Linked DNA regions of Homo sapiens: region 2 is linked to region 1. Evidence: promoter capture Hi-C in 16 types of primary human blood cells and fetal thymus (Javierre and others, 2016). All regions are on one chromosome and are shown on one strand. The core of a region is centred on a gene start or on the middle of the fragment in contact, and the rest is flanking DNA. Distances in the headings are between cores, read along the strand shown. Region 1 holds the start of GARIN1A (golgi associated RAB2 interactor 1A). Region 2 overlaps GARIN1B (golgi associated RAB2 interactor 1B).

Region 1 (6,834 bases), core at 2,063-4,562:
TGTCCTATTACTGTCAAGTGGCACCCCCCACCATTTCTTCAAAGGCTGTGATAAGTTTTGCACAGATGAGGGCAGCAGAAAGGAGGTAGTTGCTGCTAGACACCATCCTTCTCTGTATATTCCACACTGACCTTGCTCTAGGCAAAGGCCCCCACCACAAAAACAATAGGGTCACTGTTGAACACCAGCTCTTTTTTTTTTTTTTTTTTTTTTTGAGACGGAGTCTCGCTCTGTCGCCCAGGCTGGAGTGCAGTGGCGGGATCTCGGCTCACTGCCAGCTCCGCCTCCCGGGTTCACGCCATTCTCCTGCCTCAGCCTCCCAAGTAGCTGGGACTACAGGCGCCCGCCACTACGCCCGGCTAATTTTTTGTATTTTTAGTAGAGACGGGGTTTCACCGTTTTAGCCGGGATGGTCTCGATCTCCTGACCTCGTGATCCGCCCGCCTCGGCCTCCCAAAGTGCTGGGATTACAGGCGTGAGCCACCGCGCCCGGCCCTGAACACCAGCTCTTACACCTACCTCGCTGATGCCTGGAATGGAAAAAGAAGTGCCGATTTTCTTTTTCTTTCTTTCTTTTTTTTTTTTTAGACAGAGATTCACTGTGTGGCCCAGGCTGGAGTACAGTGGCACAATCTTGGCTCACTGCAACCTCCGCCTCCCGGGTTCAAATGGTTCTTTTGCCACAGCCTCCTGAGTAGCTGGGAATACAGGCGCATGCCACCACACCCAGCTAATTTTTGTATTTTTAGTAGAGACAGGGTTTCACCATATCGGCCAGACTGGTTTCAAACTCGTGACCTCGTGATCCTCCCTCCTTGGCCTCCCAAAGTACTGGGATTAAAGGTGTAAGCCACCACACCCAGCCAGAAGTGCCAATTTTCATACATCCAACTGGGAAGTGATCTGATGTTGGATTCTTTTTTCTTTCTTTTTTTTTTTTAGGTGGAGTTTTGTTCTTGTTGTCCATGCTGGAGTGCAATAATGGTGTGATCTCAGCTCACTGCAACTTCCACCTCCCAGGTTCAAGTGATTCTCCTACCTCAGCCTCCCGAGTAGCTGGGATTACAGATGCCTGCCACCACGCCCGGCTAATTTTTTATATTTTTAGTAGAGATGGGGTTTCACCATGTTGGTCAGGCTGGTCTCCAACTCCTGACCTCAGGTGATCCACCCGCCTCGGCCTTCCAAAGTGCTGGGATTACAGGTGTGAACCACTGCACCTAGCCCTTTTTCTCTTTTTAAATATACAATTTTAGGATCCCTTTTTTTTTTTTTTTTGAGATGGGAGTCTCATTCTGTCACCCAAGCTGGAGCGCAGTGGCACAATCTCTGCTCACTGCAACCTCTGCCTTCTGGACTCAAGTGATCCTCCCACCTCAGCCTCCCAAATAGCTGGGACCACAGGGCGTGCCACCACACCCGGGTAATTTTTGTATTTTTTGTAGAGACGAGGTTTTACCATGTTGCCCAGGCTGATCTTGAACTCCTAAGTTCAAACAATCCACCCACCTTGGCCTCCTGAAGTGCTGGGATTACAGGCGTGAGCCACTGCACCTGGCCTTATAATACTCTTTATTGTAAATTTCATATGACCAGTTGATTCTTACCAAAAGCTTTTGTTGATTTTTGTCAAACGCTGATATTTCTAGCCAACCTATGATTGCAACTGACAAGCAAGTATAGTTCTGACATGAATATTGGTTGATATTTTGATTTACATTAATGAGCAAGGCAAAAGTGAAATAACAAAGTTGTGTATTGGAACTTTACTCATTTGTCAATGACGTGGGCAACTTCTTCGCTAAATTAGGTAAGTCTTCAAATACTGGAAGGCTATTTTCTCAGATTTTTCTATGCCCAAAATATAATAGCTACAGACACATCTTTAAGTTTAATCTGCATAATTAACATTTTCTCTATCACTTTAGTTTAGACAATCAACAGAACAATAAATCAAACCCTGATTTGTAGCACTTGCTGATTTCAAGCTAGCTAACAAGATGAAGTTCCTGAACACACCCTGGGAAGAGATATGCAGCAGCCCACCACTGTATACTGTTTCTTTTCTTTTCTTTTTTTTGAGACAGAGTCTTGCTTTGTCGCTTAGGCTGGAGTGCAGTGGCACCATCTTGGCTCATCACAACCTCCACCTCCCAGATTCAAGCGATCGCCCTGCCCCAGCCTCCCAAGTAGCTGGACTACAGGTACCCACACCACACCCGGCTAATTTTTGTAGTTTTAGTTGAGACGGGGTTTCACCCGTTGACCAGGCTAGTCTCGAACACCTGACCTCAGGCGATCCACCCACCTCGGCCTCCCAAAGTGCTGGGATTACAGTCATGAGCCACCAAGCCCAGCCAAGTTTATATCATTTAAGTTTTAAAGGCTGGGCTTGGTGGCTCATGACTGTAATCCCAGCACTTTGGGAGGCCGAGGTGGGTGGATCGCCTGAGGTCAGGTGTTCCAGACCAGCCTGACCAACATGGAGAAACCCTGTCTCTACTAAAAATACAAAATTATCCGGGTGTGGTGGTGCATGCCTGTAATCCCAGCTACTCGGGAGGCTGAGGCAGGAGAATTGCTTGAAGATGGGAGGCGGAGGTTGTGGTGAGCCGAGATCACGCCACTGCACTCTAGCCTGGGCAACAAGAGCAAAACTCTGTCTCAAAAAAAAAAAAAAAAAAGTTTTAATAATTGCTGTGTTTAACAACTGGTTTGTAGCATTCCTGAAAATGTAACAACCAGCTCTCGTGACCTGTTTTGGTCTGGCTCCAGCATACAACTGTGCCACTGCCTTCTCCTTTGCCCACTGTTTCCAAATAAATAAGCTTCTCAGTTTAGTTAACAGGTGTCCATTTCTTTAAAAAAAAAAAAAAATCTCCTTTTCTCCCATGAGATGGGGTAGGGAAGATGAACTCCCTTTTTCCTATCCTTAGACTTCCCTGGGCAGGTGAACAAGTCCCATGGAAGTTTGGTGAGGGGCTTCAAGGGGAGCCAAGAGGATTAAAGCCTGTATGTTCCCGAGAGCCTTCCTTGCATCTGGCCAGCTCACTGCTGCCTTGGCATAACTTTGGGAGGGTCATTTTTTCCATGTGGGGTAAGGCTGAATGTTTACAAAGTGGAATAGGCTGCATTACTGCTGGTTTGTAGTTGGTGGAAAGAGGGAGAAAAGAGCCTGGCACATCCTCTGTCCTTCCTCTTCTTTTTTTTTTCCCTTTTCTGTTGTCACCATCACATTCCTTGATGTCATTCCTGCCATTGTGAGCTGACAGGCCCTCCCAGCCCTGGTGGACAGCCCGTAAGTAAATGGGGAGGAAATGCTGGGGAGGTGGGGGCAGATCACATCAACATCCTGGCATTGGGCTGGGTCGGCGTGGAGCCCCAGAAATGTTCCCAAGCCCATTCTTACCAAGAACCAATGAGTAAAATCAGGGGCCTCCCACCTGAGGTCAGGGAACCAGGCCCTGGAGTGGAACTTGGGGTGGAAAATGGCCTTCTTTGTCAACTGATTCATTCTCCAGAATTCAATTTGTTCTCCAACTCGGTGGTGTTTGAAAGCAACTTTATCCAGGTACCCTCGTGGAGCTCAGGGCCAGCTGTCTTTCTGTTTCCAAAACCTGTTCCTAGGGGTTGGTTAGGAGATGCTGTGGCCTTTTAAAGCCCTGGGGGAGGGGGGGGCGGGGGGACAAAGAAGCCACCAAAGCTAGAGAAAACCAGAAGGTCTGGGTCCCAAGTTCACCTCCATTTGTGCCTACCGTATGATAGAGCTACCTGCAGGTCATCTGTTCTAGGGAAATTGATTTATGCTTTACAAATGAGAGATCAGAGCTCAGTCTCCAGGCAGGGTTCACAGGCCCTTTCTGGGCCACTTGTCCAAAGTGGATGGTTACAGGGAATGAAGGTTGCTGTTAGAAACTCTGCTCTGAAATCCATCCTCCTCAGTCTGGGATGGTTTAGAAACAGCCTTGTTTGAAAGCAAAGACACTGGGTAAATAGGTGTTGCCCAGATCCTACCATTCCCTAAAAGGATGGTGGTGACATGACCAATGGAAGTGAGCCTGGGATGGGGCCACTGGGAGTGGAAGGTGGTCGTTTTCGTAAGTATCAAGTCTTAACGCGGGTGCTGCCTGCCTCCCTCTAGCGGTCTAGCCTGAACCCATGCTCCTGCGCAGGAGAGCATAACCAGTTAATCAGCCAGTAAGCACACACTAAACATCTACTGAGTGCAGGGCAGGAGGTGCAGAGAAAAATCAGAGTGTCCCTGGCCAGGAAGCCTATGAGTTTGGTTTACCTGTTATTTGGTAACTGTCTAAGCAAGCTCTATGTCAGAGAGCTTGGGCCAGCTGATGCACCAGGCATGACTGCAGAGAGCAGGTGCTGGGGGCATTCATTCAAGGCATTCTCTCTGGACTTTGGCAGTTGAAGAAGGCTTTCCAGAAGGGTCTTAAGCCATTCTTTGAGAGACTGCTGAGATTTTGGTAAGTGGAAGAGCAGCGGGGAGGATATCCCAGACAGAGGGGCTTCAAAGTACCTAAGGAAAGGCAGGGAGGCTGGAATGCAAGGTCTGCAAGACACAGACCCATTCAAATGGAATGGGAAAGTAGCCAGGGGTTATAGGAGAGAAGGTGGGAACAGTTTGAGGTGGGTCTTGGGCTTAATTTGGAGACTCTTCACAGAGCAGCGAGCTGCTCCCTAATGGAGTCCCCGGATTTTGGAGAGCTGTGTTTATGGCTCCTGCCGCTCCACGGTCCCTTTACTGTGCCCCAGGAGATGTGTAGTTGGGTGATCAGCTGGCAAACCTGAGGCGAGCTCATTCCTAACATACCCTTGGTGGAGACAGAGCAATAACATGGGAAGTCCAGTCTCAGGATCCAATTTCTAGTCATTTCTATTTGGGTGTAATGATTCAGCTGCAAATTTCTTCTCTTAATGTGTGCTTTTTTTTTGAGATGGAGTCTCACTCCGTTGCCCTGGCATGGTCTAGGCTCACTGCAACCTCTGCCTCCTGGGTTCAAGCAATTCTCCTATCTCAGCCTCCCGAGTAGCTAGGACCACAGGCGTGCACCACCTCGCCCAGCTAATTTTTTTGTGTTTTAGTAGAGATGGGGTTTCACCATGTTGGCCAAGATGGTCTTGATCTCTTGACCTCATGATCTGCCCGCCTTGGCCTCCCAAAGTGCTGTTTTCTTTGGCCTAATATTAAAACTGTTTAGATTCTCTGAATGGACACTAAGTGACCTGGGTAGCAGCAAACTTAGAATGTGCTAGGGAGAGGCTGACCCGCACAGAAAAGTTCAAAGTTTGATTTTTTAAAAAAAAATTTTTGATAGAGACAGGGTCTCACTATGTTGCCCAGGCTGGTCTTGAACTCCTGGCTTCAAGTGATACTCCGGCTTTGGACTCCCAAAGTGCTGGGATTATAGGCATGAATGACCGCACACAGTCCAAAGTTTACTTGAAGTGATGCAACCCACATATTAGTTATAGTTATAGTTGTTATAGTACAGTTACACTGCTTCCTCTCTCCCCCTTCCTGCACATCACCATCACTATCATCATCTCAAAGCAGCATTACCCACAAACATTTATTGAGCACTTACTCTCAATGTGTACAACCCTTTGTGTTTTGCAGAGGATATGAATTTCATTCCTCAACAAGGGCTCCAAGAAGTGTCACTTTTTTTTTTCAAAATCAAAATTCACTTTTCTGGGAACACCATCTGGTCAGGCTGGTGGGAAATTACATTTCAGTCATCCCTGGGGCTTTCCCTCATCCCCAGTTCCACCAAGGACTGGGCAATGGTGTCGATAGTTTTACAAAGTCTAGAACATTGGCTGGGCATAGTGGCTCATGCCTGTGATCCCAGCACTTTGGGAGGCTGAGAAGGGAAGATCACTTGAGCCCAGGAGTTTGACACCAGTCTGGGCAACATAGTGAGACCCCATCTCTATTTTCTAAAAAAAGTGTAGAGCATTGGGAGAAGGCCCTCTGGCCTTGGGAACATAGGCGTCCCTCCTCATATGTTCCTTATCCAGGTCCCTGTGGCTCCTAAGTGGCCACAGCTCTGGTGCTTTTCTGCCAGCCGTGCACAGTGAGGTGGGGGGTGTCTTAGCTGAGACACAGTGCCCAGTGGTGGGCATCCAGTCTTTCTGTCCTGTGATGGCCGCCTTCTGCTTCAAGAGAATAGGTCCTCATTCCACTCAAGACCCAGCAACAAGATAGCCCCTCCATCATCCTGGGAGAAGTGCTCCAAACCTCCCTCAACTCAAGCTGTCTGGGTCTTCCCCATTCAACAGCTTTTTCCTCACTTTCCTCTCCTTCTGGGACTTTCTTCACACAATCTCCCTTTTGGGCCACTAGAAACCAGTGCTGGCTTCTCCTGCCCAAAGATGGGGGAATGAAAACTTCAGTGCCACTCAGCTTTTTCTTGCTAGTGCATCTTTTTAGTTAGATAAAACAGTTATCTTTTTAGTTAGATAAAACAGAGGACCCAGAGAAGAATGACACAGGGTTCCTGCAGCCAATGACCTTAAAGTGTATTTGGGGAGGCCAATGAAAAGGATCAATAGCAGGTCAGGGCCCAGCCCAGTGTGTGCACACCTGCCCCCAAGATGATGTGCCACTTTCCAGCATCTGTATTCCACCCCTTGTTTTCTGCTCCTTTCTGACCCATGTACCTGAGGCTGATTTCCAGGTCACTAAGCCCGGGAACTGGAGAGATGTCTGTGAAGGGTCTGCCACCGTGATCCTCGGGGTCACCTCCTCGGTGCCCTCCCTGCCACTCCCCAATGTCCTCCTGATGGCCAATGTTACCTGGCCCCAGGGTCCATTTA
Region 2 (6,834 bases), core at 1,816-4,315, 59 kb after region 1:
GATAGTGGCAATGAGAAAGTGAAAGCTTCAATTAAGACTTCCATTCGTTGTTGCCATGCTGGAATCCAGGCCAAATATTCTGATTTTTCAAGAGAAGCCAAAAGATCTGGACATATGTGGCATACCACCTTCCCATAAAATATTCAAGCATAGTATTGGCTAACACTTAGTGGGCAAACAAAACATATCTGCAGACCACATTCAGCCTGGAGGCTGCCAGCTCACAGCCCCTGTTCTAAATGGTGAGCACAGCTGTGGCTGCCTCACATTTTGTCCAAGCCTAAGAATGTTTTCTCATGTTATGCGACTAATGACATGATGGTGACTCATTTCTCTGCATTTAAACATACATTCAAACACACATATGTATAAACATACACACTCAAAACATACCCCATGACATTAGGGTTGAAGAAAACAGATGTGAGGAATATTTCAAACATTTCTGGGACTTGAGAAAACAGCTAGAATTTTAGGGTCGCAGGGTATCTGGCATCATGGGACCTACCACGGCCAAGATGTTCCTAGGCTGAAATTGAATTGAAATTAACCATCCCAGGTGGCCTCCAGGCCCTCTTTTCTCATTCGGCGAGGGAGTGTAGTCTCTCAGTTTAAAAAGACTGTTATACCCCAGCCTCTGGAACTTTTGGATGAAAAAGAGACTTAAAATTGGAAAAACCAGAGGCCCAACAGCACCTGTGTGGCTGAATCTTTCCACTCACCACCAGCAGGTGGTATGGCCTATTATTGCAGTGCTTCCCAAACTTTAATGTCCAAACAGTCCCCCATAGATCTTGTTAAAAGGCAGATTCTAATTTCTTGGGTCTAGCGGGATTGAGACTGCGATTCTAACATGCTCCCAGGTAATGCCCAAGGTGCTGGGCTGTGGGCCATCCTTTGAAGAGCCAGGGCCAAGTGGACCAAGAACAGGCTCTAGCTTAAGGTCTTCTGGGTTCAAGGCCATTGCTAGTTCAGCTAGATGAGTCTCCTGGGGAAATCCACTCAGTTAACCCATCTGAATCATATTGGGTCTCTCCTTTTACTGGTGCTGTCTTGTTCACGTGACATAGTGGTAAGAACGTGGACTCTGGAGCCAGGCTGCCAGGCTTGGAATTCTGACTCTGCTTCTCCTTGTGTGACAGTTGGTAAGTTACTCACCCTCTCTGACCTCACAGAGGTGAGGATTAAAGGACCATGAATGCACGTAATTGTTTGGAATGGTGCCTGGCACATCGTAAGCACCCCCCCAAATGTCAGCTGTAACCTGTAAGGGCTCTGTGAACCAGCACACAAGCAAATGCATTTCTTTACTTGATCTAGGGAAAGATTCTTCCCGTGAAGACAGCATCCCTTGCACCTGTGACCTACGTTGGAGGGCTTCATTCACGTACGGAGAGTGGGAAAGAGAGAACCCCTCCGGCCTGCAGCCCCTCTCACTACTCAGCACTCTGGCAGCCTCCACCGGGCCACAGCTGGCCCCACCCATAGGTACAGCAATGGGAGGAATCCCCTGCCATTGTGGGGCAGCCCTGGCATTCAGCCTCAGGGCTGGGTCAGATCCTGGGGTCCTGAGGGTGATTCCAGAAAGTTGTGGGGTGTGGTCGAGGAATGCTGGCCACAGAGACCTCAGCCCTCTTTTCCCAACTGGGCTGAGCAAAACCATGATGTGTGGCACCTCCAGGGCCCCCAGAGTTCCCCCAGATGCTGTTGACGCTATAGCTGCTTTCTCTTGCTGTATGGGAGGTGTAAGGGATCTCCTCTGCAGACTCCCCATGTGGTCTTTCCTCTCTTTTCCTTTCCTGGAGCTCTTGAAGGGCCTTCTTACTGCTTGGGTTGGGATGCAGAGAGTGAAAAGGAAGTAGGTTAAGGGGGCTGGGGTGGGGTCAGACCTCCCTAAGGTCCCAGTCCTTCTGTCTTCATGCTCAAGGCCCATTCGTCCATCCACACATTCATTTAACAAACATTTGTGAAGTACTTCCTATGTGCCTCTGTTTGACCAGAGATAGATTTCCCTAAAAGGGAGGGGTGATTTCTGTTTTCTAAAGTAAAATGTCATGAATAAACCACCAACTCTTTTTTTTTTGAGACGGAGTCTCACTCTATCACCCAGGCTGGAGTGCAGTGGCATGATCTTGGCTCACTGCAACCTCCGCCTCCCAGGTTCAAGTGATCCTCCTGCCTCAGCCTCCTGAGTAGCTGGAATTACAGACATGCACCACCACGCCCAGCTAATTTTTGTATTTTTAGTAGACACAGGGTTTCACCATGTTGGCCAGTCTTGTCTCGAACTCTCGACCTCAGAACTCTCAACCTCAGGTGATCTGCCCACCTTGGCCTCCCACAAAGTGCTAGGATTACAGGTGTGAGCCACTGGGCCCGGCCACCACCAACCCTTATAAGATACCTATTATAGATAGTTGACAATTTTTTTAAATTAGCATAAGTATCTGTGTGCCCACAAAAGAGCTTTTTAGGTAATTTATATCCTATCAAACACTTTTCTCTCCTACACTCACAGGAAATTCTATTTGAGCCACCCTTCCGCACTGGGGAGAATCTATGCAAGCCTCGTCAACACCACTTTGCAGCATTCAGCTGCTGAGGGATTATCGGGATGGAGAGTAGGAGAAAACTGCAACCAAGGAAGAATAGAGTCATCTCACGGTGACAGCAGAGCCTTTCCAGCTGTACATAACCACGTCCTCGCCACTGCACCTCGGCATATGCCACCTCCATGCCACTGCCAGAGCTGGCCTAGCAAGATGTGCTCTCAGAATGGCCGGGCCCAAGAGATGAAGGAAAGGAGTGAAAGGGAAGTAGGACCAGAGAAGTGGAAGGAAGCAAAATGGAGGTGATGAGAAAGGTGGTGGGAGAAAGTCAGCAGATGAGAGACACAAAGAGAAGTGGTAATAGGAAACGGAAGAGACTTGGTAGACGAGATAAGGAGGACAAGAGAAGGGACACACCCCTGAGAGATGCTCACCAAGCTTCTATTTATCTAATTTAAAACTTGAAAGTAAAGCCATAAACAAAAAAAAGAAATGTTTTCTTCCCTGCTCAGACCATTCTGGACAAATGTGAACTGCCAGACACCTTCCATTTCCCTTTCTATCTGTTTTTCTTGCTAGTTCCTGTCTTCTGATTAAAGCTTCATTCCTTCTTTGTTGGCCTGTTCCCTAACTTGGACTTGCTAGCCCTGTTGTTCCTAATAGAGGTTTGGGTTTGAGCTGCAGAAAGGTTCTTATAGGAGGTAGTAAGACAAGGTGTGTAAGGTAGGGCGAATTTCTCTTTTGTGTTCAAATTCCCTAAGTTTGCTATTATCTCCGTGCCGCAAACACTGGCTCAACTTCTTTTTTGTATAACACTCCCTTGAAATGTCGACATACCTTGTTAGTGCTTTTTAAATTAGAGATTCCAGAGATAGGAGATATAGGCTCAACATACAGGTTAATCAGAGGTTTACCAATTATAGATGAAGGGAGTCATGAAGGAGTGTTTGTCAGATGGTCTATGGACTGGCCTCTTTGTTTAAAATGTGCAATAGTGTCAGGAGCAGTAGCTCGTGCCTGTAATCCCAACGCTTTGGGAGGCTGAGGCAGGTGAACCACTTGAGCCCAGAAGTTTGAGACCAGCCTGCGAAACATGGCGAAAACCCATCTCTGCCAAAAATACAAAAAAATTAGCCAGGAGTGGTGGTGTGTGCCTGTAGTCCCAGCTACCAGGCAGGCTGAGATGGGAGGATTGCTTGAGCCCAGGAGGTCGAGGCTGCAGTGAGCAATGAGTGTGCCACTGCACTTCAGCCTGGGTGACAGAGTGAGATCCTGTCTCAAAAAAAGAAAAATTTCACATTTAATGAGAAACAGACTATGAGTATTTCAGGAAAGCTGTCCATCCCCCAGCTGGGGAGGGTATTTTGATTTGACTTAAGATATCCTAGCAGCATCTTTTTCCTCACTTAACTAGTTTTCAGCCTGAAATTGTTAGAAGGCTAAAAAATAAGCTCCTGGATCACCATTACTCAAAGGCTGAGTTATGTCCTAATTCTTAGTGATTTCAGCATCCACATGGATGATCCTTCCCATACTTTGATCTCTGTTCCCTGAACTCCTGCCTTCCAGCAATGCTTTTTCCACCCTCCTCGACCACTGTCTCCCTTGATTTTACCCTAGTGTTTGTCATTAATAACTGCACCTAACCCCATTATTTCCACTCCCTAGCTATAACACCTCCTATTTTTTCCTGAGTCCAATAATCCATTGACCCACCAATCCTACAATCTATTGCTTCTACCAGGTTTTCACTGTTCCTCGCTCTCTTCATGTTCTCATTTCCTTCCCCTGTAACCTAGATTATCTGTGATCAGTCATTATTATTATCACTTCCTGGCATGCATTCTCAACATCTTTGTGACTCTCTCACTTTCTTCCCTTGGCTAAATTCAGTTCTCTACCAGCTCCATGCCTGTGTGATGCTGCTGAACTTGCCACTGAACCTCTCTGGAGAAGATCACATGACATACTAACCAGTCTCCCTGCAAAGTCATCATCATGGCCTCAAGGGGGTCCTTGATGTTGCCTGGAAATCATCATGTGTTCTCCTAAATCTGTTCACTCTGCTGAATGGCTATTTCACACCTCTCTCCTCTAACTGCCAATGCCTCCTCCTGATGACCCTGCTTCCTATTTCACTGAGAACATAGTCAGAATTGAAAGAGAATTTCAGGCTCTCACCACCATATCTACCAATTACCTAGATCCAGACCCATTGACTCTAGCTTCTCTCTTTGTTACTATGGAGGAACTGTCTCTCCAAGCAGAGTCCAGCTCTTCCCCTTTTGTAGTAGATCCCATTCCATCTCACCCAAATATGTCACACCAGCAACTTTTCCTTTTTCCTACGTCATCAGTTTGATCTCTACTTCCAGATCCTTCCCATCAGCAACGAACATACTGGCATGCCTCCTAAACATACTTATTTCTTACAATAAAAACAGAACAAAATAAAACAAAACCTCTCTTGGCCCCTCTGCCTCCTTGCTCCAGTTTTCTCCACCCCTTTACAGAAAACTCCATGAAAGGGAACCAACTTTTAAAAATCTCCATTGTCTCTTGAAGTCCTTCAACCAGGTTTTTGCATTCACTACCTTGACAAACCTGTCAAAGATTCCCACACTGCTAAAGCCCATGGCCAACTGGGCCCCACCTCACTGTCAGCAGCATGCTTTCTCCCTGAACCTTTTCTTCACTTGGCTTCCAGGACACTCTCCTGGCTTTCCTTCTCCCTCATTGACCTTTTTCTCAGTTCCTTTGCTGATTCATTCTCATCAACACCCCCCAATCATATCTGAACATCAGAAATTCCCAGGATTCAGTCCTTAAGTCTCTTGTAATCAAAACACACAGATTTCATGCCACAAATATACTCGTAAATTTATATATTTAGTCCAGACCACCATGTACTCGAGATACATATCCAACTGCCTAGTCGATATCTCTACTTGAATGTCTAATATGTATCTCAACATGCCCAAAACAAATCTCTCAATATTATCCCTCAAATTAGCTGGGTGTGGTGGTGCATGCCTGTAATCCCAGCTACTCGGGAGGCTGAGCCAGGAGAATCACTAGAACCCAGGAGGCAGAGGTTGCAGTGAGCTGAGATCACACCACTGTACTACAGCCTGGGCGACAGAGCGAGACTCTGTCTCAGAAAAAAAAAAAAATTATCCCTCAAAACTTTGTTCTCTCTAAAGTCTTCTCCATCCTAATAAGCAGAAGCCTCATTTTTCTACTTGCTCAAAACCCTGGAGTCATCCTTAACTCCTCTCTTTCTCTCCACCCTATTTCCAACCCATTAGGAAATCCTTTCAAACTACTTTCAAAATATATTCAGAATTTGATATTCTCACTACTTCCACTGCTACCAACCTGGACCAAACCATCATCATCACTCACCTGGATTGTTGCAAACACCTCCTAAATGCACTCCGTTCCTAACCTTACTCCCTTTCAGTCTAATGTGATCCTTTAAAAATCTTAGATCATGTTTCTTCTCTGCTCAAAACCTTCCAATGGTTTCCCTTCTGTATTAGTTAAGGCAATGCTAGCTCTGAAAGAGATAAATCCTAATATATCAATGGCATAAAATAGCTAATAGAAGTTCTACTTCTCATTCACAAAGAGTCCAAAAATGGTGTTCCTGGTTCAAAAACTGAGTGGCAGTTTCACAGGAACCTGGGCTTCTTCCATCTTGTGGCTCTGCCATCTGCAATACACAGCTTCTAGCCACAGAAAGAGAATGAGCTTGGAGAATTACACATGGCAGGTCTGTATGGCCAGTACTGGAAGTAGTGTACAACATCTCCACCCTCCTTCCTTCAGTCAGAGCTCAGTCATATGACCATACTGGAAGGGAGGCTGGGAAATGTAGTCTAGCTGGGTTCACAGAAAGAAGAAGAAACAATTTAGCAAATAGTCAGTCTTCATATCCTCTCACTCATCATAGCGAAAGCTAAAGTCCTTGCAATAGCCTAAAGGCCCTACATGGTGTCCCTCTCTCCCTCCCTCATTCCTGTTGCTCCCTCTCTGACCTCATGTCCTCTACTCTCCTTGCTACTGTACTGCAGTCCCACTGGCTTCCAGTTGCTCCTCAAACACTTCAAACATACTCCCAACTCAGGGCCTTGCCTTGGTGTTCCCTTTTCCTGGAATGTTCACCACCTTCAGATGTTCACTCACGTGTCACCCTCTCATGAGCTTCCCTGGCCACCTTTTCTGAGATGGCAACGCCACTCCTGATAGTCCCAACACTCACTGTTCTCCTTTCCTGCCTTAT

What was found. The method cuts DNA at HindIII sites, captures the fragments that hold promoters and counts their contacts. A CHiCAGO score of 5 or more calls a contact.
Region 2: a contact is called between a fragment that was not itself captured here and the fragment with the promoter of GARIN1A in region 1, in 2 of 17 cell types (M1 macrophages and endothelial precursors). The highest score is 5.4, in M1 macrophages.

The regions. Positions count from the first base shown.
Region 1 is chr7:128,668,980-128,675,813 of GRCh38, forward strand. GARIN1A (golgi associated RAB2 interactor 1A) reads left to right here and starts at 3,313. Exons shown (of 5, transcript NM_001128926.4): 1 at 3,313-3,571; 2 at 6,696-6,834. The coding sequence starts at 3,419. RefSeq lists a silencer at 4,175-4,234. The HindIII fragment of the contact is 20,881 bases long and covers 2,827-6,834 here.
Region 2 is chr7:128,728,582-128,735,415 of GRCh38, forward strand. GARIN1B (golgi associated RAB2 interactor 1B) reads left to right here. Exons shown (of 7, transcript NM_001282788.3): 6 at 1,321-1,488; 7 at 2,519-3,162. The coding sequence ends at 2,532. Among named protein-coding and RNA genes, the nearest start is that of CALU, 7.4 kb to the right of the region's middle. The HindIII fragment of the contact is 161 bases long and covers 2,986-3,146 here.